2 separate regions of the Homo sapiens genome follow, and region 2 is linked to region 1. The links are contacts of gene promoters, found by promoter capture Hi-C in human tissues and cell types (Jung and others, 2019). All regions are on one chromosome and are shown on one strand. Each heading gives the region's core, a stretch centred on a gene start or on the middle of the fragment in contact. The rest is flanking DNA. Distances are from core to core; before and after follow the strand shown. Region 1 holds the start of TMA16 (translation machinery associated 16 homolog). Region 2 holds the start of LOC101928081 (a long non-coding RNA gene).

Evidence for each region. Contacts are between HindIII fragments. The study calls those that stand out against the background at their distance.
Region 2: a contact is called between a fragment that was not itself captured here and the fragment with the promoter of TMA16 in region 1, in 1 of the 25 tissues and cell types used here (mesenchymal stem cells).

The regions. Positions count from the first base shown.
Region 1 is chr4:163,492,794-163,496,893 of GRCh38, forward strand. TMA16 (translation machinery associated 16 homolog) reads left to right here and starts at 1,897. Exons shown (of 7, transcript NM_018352.3): 1 at 1,897-2,011. The coding sequence starts at 2,009. LOC124900805 (a long non-coding RNA gene) reads right to left here and starts at 2,431. Exons shown (of 2, transcript XR_007058354.1): 1 at 2,369-2,431; 2 at 1-2,103. RefSeq lists a cis regulatory region at 235-506 and enhancers at 1,788-2,690, 2,154-2,293, 2,324-2,473. The HindIII fragment of the contact is 18,907 bases long and covers 1-4,100 here.
Region 2 is chr4:163,109,636-163,113,329 of GRCh38, forward strand. LOC101928081 (a long non-coding RNA gene) reads left to right here and starts at 580. Exons shown (of 3, transcript XR_244745.4): 1 at 580-665. It also overlaps a transcript of NAF1 not described here. The HindIII fragment of the contact is 3,127 bases long and covers 270-3,396 here.

The sequences.
Region 1 (4,100 bases), core at 647-3,146:
ATCCCCGTCCTTAAGTGATGCATGAATGTGCTGCCTCCACAGTATATATTCAAAGGTGACCTTCATTGCATAGATTCACACACAAAAAAAGCCATGTGAAAATACCTTGCCCCTAGATTCAGGAATCTTCTGGACACACTCTTGTTTACAATTTAAATTATTTCCAAAAATTGATATATCTGTCGATTAAATACAAGTATTTGTGCGGCAGGAGAATAGGGTCTGGAAGCAGGGAAGCTAGGACTGATTTGTGCTGATGGGATATCAGTTGAAAGACTACTCCCCTTCAACCCCTCCTTTTTCTGCATGGCAGTTGCTGCCTGGCAGTTGCAAGCCCTTCTTTTTCTGTGTGGCAGTTGAAAAATGAAAGTGCCTCAGATTGGTCCCCTTCCTCAACCAATCAGACTTGTGGAAGACCAATGGGAAACCTCTAGAAGGTATTTAAACCCCAGAAAATTCTGCAACCTGTGCTTTTGAGCAGCTTGCCACAGCCTGCTTCCACGCAGTGGAGTAGTGTACTTTCATTTAAAATAAATCTCTGCTTTCGCTGCCTTGCTTTATTTGTGTGTTTTGTCCAATTATTTGTTCAAAACGCCAAGGACCTAGCCAACTACCCTCAACTGTTAACAGCTGCACACACATATCAAGGCACACCAGCTTCACCCTGCCTGGAGCTTCTTCCCATGCCTAGTTTTCTCTTACAATTCCGGTCTCTGCTCAATTATCACTTCTAAAAGAGGACTTTATAGAGACCACCATGTGTAAAACAGCTTTTCTACATGCCCCCGCCAGCTAATTTTTATTAGAGTACTTATATTATTTGAAATAATATTTTTACATGCCTCCATCCCCTGGAAAATGAGCTGAGTGAGGGATATTGTTGGAGTATCCCCAGTACCAGGCACACAGTAGGCATTCAATAAATAGTTTTTGAATGATTACATTGTCTACGGAATTCTAACATGTATGGGTGAAACAAAGACTCTCACATGCTGTGAGAAGAAAACAAAAACTGGGTTGGCAGAGGCCTTGAATATGAGGAAGTGGCCTTTCCGGATAAAGAAACTAAGACTCGGCCGGGCGTGGTGGCTCAGGCCTGTAATCTCAGCACTTTGGGAGGCCGAGGCGGACGGATCACCTGAGATCAGGAGTTCGAGACCAGCCTGGCCAACACGGCGAAACCCCGTCTCTACTAAAAATACAAAAAAAAAAAAAAAAAAAAAAAATTAGCCGGGCGTGGTGGCGGAGGCCTGTAATTCCAGCTGTTCGGGAGGCTGAGGCAGGAGAATCGCTTGAACCCGGGAGGAAGAAAGAAAGAGGGAATGAGGGAAGGCGGGAAAGAGGGAAAGAAGAAAAGAAAAGAAAGGAAAGAGAAGAGGGGCGGGGCGGGGCAGGGCAGGGCAGGGCAGGGCAGGGCAAAAAAAGACTCAGTGCAGGAAAGGACTTGCCCAAGGTAATCTAGTACGTGGAAAAGCGGAGGGCAGGAGCCTGTGCCGTGCAAGAGCTCCGGGGAGCCAACACCGAGCGGCCCTTTTGAGAGGGTCCCAGCCCCTGAGATGCGGGAGCCCGCAAGAGGGAACCTCTTGTCTGAAGAGGTTGCTGCGCTCTGGAGTCGTGCTCTGGGACAGATGGGCAAGCTCCGCTCTTGGGGCCGGAAGCGTGTAGCGTCTCCACCCGGGCTCCAATCCCCAGCCTCGCACTCAGCACCAGGCAGAGTTCAGCCTCCCGCCGCAAGCTCCCTTCCGCCGCTCCCGGCGAGCACGCAGGTCTGGCTGTCCGTTGGGCTAGAGCTTAAAAGCCCAACACGGGCGAAAAAGACGCGGTCTCAGTTAACGGGGACGCTTTAGAGAAACGCACTCGCCTCTCCTGTTCCGGTTGGGTCGGCGCGGGCTTCTCAGGCGCCACGTGGGATTCGGCCCGGGTGCTCTTGTGAGCTGCTGCTCCTGCGGTTGGTGAGATTACCTGGGTCTAGAGTGCGGAGCTGCTCCGTGGCCACGAGGACGTCACCATGGTGGGCCCCCTCCTGCTCCCCCGAACCGCTCGGTTGGTTCCCCGGAAGGCTCTTGTTGAGCAGGCAGAGAGGGAGGGTGCGGTTTCGGGAACCTAGGAGAGGGGAGGATGCAAAGTGTTTATTTTCAGGGAGTGTGCGGGGTGCGGGGCGAAGCCTCTGGGAGGCGAGTCCCAGGCCCAACGCCTGGACCTTAGAGTTCCGCGTCCGAGTGCTGAAGTGCTCACACGTCGCCTTGCTCCTCTTTGCCTTGTGCCTAACTTCTCGCTAGTCACTACTTCCTGGGGGAAACCCGGCACCTTTCCATTGTAACGCATCGAGGAGTTTGGCAAAACTTCTGAGATCGCTGGCCCTACACACCTCTGCCTCTCTGGCCTGGGTAGACTCAGTATGTGGGCTTAGTCGCCTCTTCCTCGGCGTCCGTTCACCTCTCGTTAGTGCCCTGAATCCTGCCGTTACGCCCCCATTCGCTCCAGGGCACTGAAGCAGTTTTGTTGTTTTTATTAAAAACTGAGTAGATACAAAAGAGTGTTACTAAAGCACATTTCAAGTGTAAAGATGAACAGTTTCAGGAATTCTCGTTTACCCATTTTGTAGTTTTAAGAAATAAAACATAGCCTTTGAAAGCCCTGTGTTACCTTCTTTGAACTTTCAGGAAACCTTAAGAAGCAAACATTATCTAAGTTTTGTATTTATAATTTCACTACTTTTCTTTATAGTTACTACATATATTTGTATTTTGAAACAGTATGTTGTTTCTTGCCTATTTTTTACGTAATCGTTGTGTTCTTGAGAGTAATTCTTGCATAGAAACATGCTTTATAAATTTTTTTCAATTAATTTTTAATAAAAGCAAAATTTTAAAAGTTTATAATCTGGTCAGAAGTTACGATATTGTGTCCACAATGTGGCCTCTTTGTTTCTTTTCATTTTTTTCTCTTTTCATTGTATGCCATTTTTGTCTTACAGTCTGGTTCTTTCGTTGTTTCGCGAGTTTTTTGTGCTTTATTTTGATCCACTGCTGACGCATATTTTGTACTTTAGATTGTACACATTTGTGTAAATTCAGTGTTTGCTTGTCACTTTGCTTGTGGGATTTCCAACTCTTTATAGTGTTAGTTTTTTTCCCCTTTTCAGAGTGGAATATGAAAGCAATTACATCTCATTGTGTTTGAGTGATTGGGGAGATAGATTGGTATTTGACTGTAGTTGTCCTTGACTATCAGAGCTTCACTTTTTATCAGGCTGTATAGTAGAAGTACGTTGCTTTGGCATAGAAGTCAAAAGAGTGGCATATGAACCTGTTTTCATTGGCTCATTTCTGGCTCTGTCATTTTTTTTTGATATAACCTCATTAGTGGTTTTGCTGCATCCTCTTTCAGTACAGCTCAGAATGTGGTCCCAAAGGACAGAGTTGGGCACCTGTCTTTCCCTGAGTTGCCATCTTGGCAAAATTACTTAACCTCCCATCTGTTTAATTGGGATAACAATAGTACCTACCTCATAGAATTGTGGAAATTAAATGTAAAGTGCTTAGTCTAGTGCCTGGCACTTAGTAAATGTTATTGTTATTAACTTTAGTTATATAAATAGTAACAGTGTACAGCTTATAGTTGTTCATCCTTGTTACTTTGCTCATTAATGTTCTCTTATTGTAAATCTTTGCTGGAGCTTAGCAAGTTCATATCTTTATATCAAAATTTAGTTTACCTGTTATATATAAATAATCTTTTCAAATTAATCCATTCCACTCAACACTTCTTTATGCTGCATTAAAAAGGTTTTTAGTGTTTATTATTTTTTATTTTTTTTTGAGACGGTGTTTTGCTCTTGTTGCCCAGGGTGGAGTCCAGTGGCATGATCGCGGCTCATTGCAACCTCCGCCTCCTGGATTCAAGTGATTCTCCTGCCTCAGCCTCCCGAGTAGCTGGGGTTACAGGTGCCAGCCACCACACCCAGCTAATTTTTGTATGTTTAGTAGAGACAGGGTTTCACCACATTGGCCAGGCTGGTCTCGAACCCCTGACCTCAAATGAGACAGGGTTTCACCACACTGGCCAGGCTGGTCTCGAACTCCTGACCTCAAATGATC
Region 2 (3,694 bases), core at 583-3,082, 380 kb before region 1:
AAGTGAGGATGATCTAACCCTACCTCACAGCCTAAAAAAAGAATGCTATGACTTGTTTCTGTGAGGTCCCCAAGTGGCAAGGAGAGAGTGCTCCATGGGGAGCTAACACCTGACATTTTGCACAGAAAGGTGTCTCCTAGAATTACCTCACACTCTGCATAGATATAGAGATTACTGTCATCTTCAGTGAGTTTGAGAGGGGCCTATAAATAGGATCAGGTGAGGTCTGAATAAGCAATGATGTGTGTCTGATCTTCTGATCCAGAATGAAATGAAAACATAATTAGTTAACACGGAATGTGCTTTTAAAATGCAGATATGTAATCCTTATCTTACTTTTGTATGTCTCTCATTTTTACCTTTGTTTACTGCAAATGATATGTGAGGTAGCATCCTGCCCTATTAAGTATGCAGATATGGAGAACATTCAGTAAGATAGCTTTTCATTATTTATTTAGGCAGAACATACAGTACTTGAAATCTGTGGGTTGCCATGAGGTTCCCATGGCAACTCTTCTATGGATAAGAATGCTTGACTAGGCTGGTAGACTTGCTGTTACCATCACCAGCCATACCATCATTTGAGGATACAGTACTCTCCCCTCATCTGTGCTGTCACTTTTCGTGGTTTCAGTTACCTTCAGTCAACCATGGTCTGAAAATAGGTGAGGTAAAATCAGATATTTTGAGAGAGAAAGAATACATTCACATAACTGTTACTACAAAATATTGTTATAATTGTCCTATTGTATTATTAGTTGTTGTTAATCTCTTACTGTGCCTATTTCCTAAATTAATCTTTATCATAGGTATGTAAGTATAGGAAAAATCATGGTATATATAGGGTTCGCTACTATTTGTGATTTCAGGCATCCGCTGGTCTTGGAACATATCCCCCAAGGCTCAGGGGGAGCTACTGTATCATCATCTTAACTTTGAAAGTTAACTTGTAAATGAATTTTGCATATTCTCTTACTGATCTGGAAATCTAAGGTCAAGCAAAAGTGATGTTTATTTGCTTCAATACATTTCCACTGAAAGAGGACAGGAACTAGAGACAGATTTTAAGCTTTCAGTTTTGTTTTTGGTTTTCCTATTTTTGTTTCCATCAAGTTAAATTCTACTATGGATTTTTTTAACTCAAAATTGATGAGCTCTAGCACTTTGTAGCGTAGTTATTTACATATTTAGTCTTAGGAACCTGGAACTGTAATCTCTAGGGATTTATTTATATTTTTTAAAAATGGATTAAGGCCTACATCAAAACTGAGATAGAGCTGCTTGAGTTTTGTTTCTCCCTCTATAATAACTAGAAATTGTATTCCTTTTCACATATTAAACACCGGAAACATTTTAAAAAAGGTAAACCCCAAAAATTGCTTTTTGAAGGTTCCTCAGAAAACTCCTTACTAATTTATATCTCGCAAAAAAACTTTTTTGTAGATTTCTGGACATAACTTCAACTATTGCATAACTACCTTTTGTTTTTTTCAGAAGTGACAAGTGTTGAATATATACTTCTAGATACAAAGCTGAAGGACTGATTTGGTGTTAAAAAAATAGGTGAATATGAGTCAAGTTAGGAAGTAATTGAATACCAGAGGAGAGGGAGGAAGTAGTGGGAAAATGTCTTTGGTAGTTGTCAACCCATTTGAAACATTTAAATTCAGAGTGCTATCCCTAGAAAATTGGAAAGCAGGTTAATTCTTTAACCACCATTATTCCCTCCCCATCTCTGAGCATAAAGTAAAAGTAATATACAATCCTTATTGTTCTTCTATTTTGTTTTGAAACACAAAATAAAATGAAATAGAATGAGCTTGATCAACTGGAAGGATGGAGTTGTCATAAACTGAGGGAGCAGAAATGTCCAGTGGCGCAAGTTTGGGGTGAATTTAGAATTCATTTTGGACGTTAACATACCTATTAGTCATTTAAATAAAGATGTCAGGGAGTTTGTGCATTTCTGAGTCCAAGTGTCTGGAAGAGAAATGTGTACATAAAAAACATAAATGGATCAAGCATGAACTCTGTGACCCTCCTACCTTAAGAGACAGGGAAAAGAGAATCAATTAGAAAAGGGGACTGAGAAAGTAGAGCCACCGCTAGTGTTTTGTTCTAGGTAAATGGCATTTCTTCGAATTGTGCACTAGGTGGCCCATCTGAGAGTGAGCCGTGAACTAGGAGGAGAAAAAAGTAAAAGAGTTTGATGTCCTGGAAGCCAAGTGGGAAACATTTTAAGGAGTAGAAAATTTTATCAATCACGCAAAAAACGTTAAGTATGATGAAGACTGAGGTCAGACCATCATAGTTTGCACTGTAAAAGCCATTGATGACTTTGAAAAGGGCAGTTTCCACTAATGGAGGGGGAAGCCTGATTAGAATAAGCTACAGAGGAAATGGGAGAAGAGGAATTGGGAGTCTGAGATTATTAATAATTTTGCAAAAGAAAGCAGAACAGCTCAGTAGCTGGTGAAATGGGCCAAAGCAAGGATAAAAAAAATAAGATGAGAGAGATAATAGCGATTTTACAAAATGGAAAAAATGATTGGGGGGGGAGAAAAATTGCTAGAGTTCTCTCTCTCAGTAAGCAAAGACAGTACACAAATAAAGTGATTAGCTTTAAGTAAAAGTACTCTGTAAAGAAGGCAGTCATAGAATATTGAGGAAAAAAGTAGGTTGGTAGGTGAACATGGTGATGGAAATCTGAATGTATTTGAGCTATCACAGGTTGGATTCACTGGAAGCAAATACTGAGATGGAAATTGGAATACTGAACATGTGTTAGGGATCAACACTTAGGGAAGGGAGAGAGAGGAAACACATGGATGGAGGAGAAATTCAAACTGCAGTACATGCTTGGCAAAGCTTAACCAACCCAAAGAGAGCTCTGGATTTGTTCCTCCAGCCTTTATGCTGCCCTCAACCACTCCTTCTGGAAATGGACATTGGATTTGGGCTCCCCCTAGAAAGGTGCACTTAGGGCTCTCCATAAGTGAGATGGACTTTATAGTTGCTGAATGCTGGAAGATATCTGCTAACCCCAGCAGCTGGGGTATAAGGCTCTTTTTGTGAAGAGGGATGTGGATGATACAGCTCTATGTCCACCCAATAAAACTGTTTCCATTTTCTCAGTACAAAGAGGAAAACAAAACTGCTACTGAGGAGGGATAGTGAAATCAGGGAACAGAAGGCTTGAAGGTTGTAGAGGAGAGTTATGAAATTGTCACCTTGGTGAGTGACAAGTGAATGGACTAGGAAAAAAATATTGCAGCTTTAAGGCTCCCTTTTAGGTTTGGTAGTTATGAATCTCAAGTGATACCAGACAGCATGAGTGTTGGGTTTTCTCCGATCACGTTCAACTCTATATGTGTAGATGCAGGAGCAAAGGGAGACAAGAAGAAAAATTGAGACATCAAACCATTAGTAGGAGGCCAGATTATTTAGAGACTTGTCAGCCATTTAAGAATCTTGTCTTTTGTTTCCCAGTTAGATGGCAAGCACTTCAGGGTTCCTTTTAATCCTTTTGGTTTTGAGAAATAATACATATATAGATAGTTCCAGAATATAAGTGTACAGCTCAAAAAACTATCACAAAGCGATCCCCCTTGTTACCTTAGTCAATCCAAGGAAGAGAGTATGGCCAGCATGGAAACGGTCCCCTCTGGTCCTCTCCCAATTATTATTCACTTCT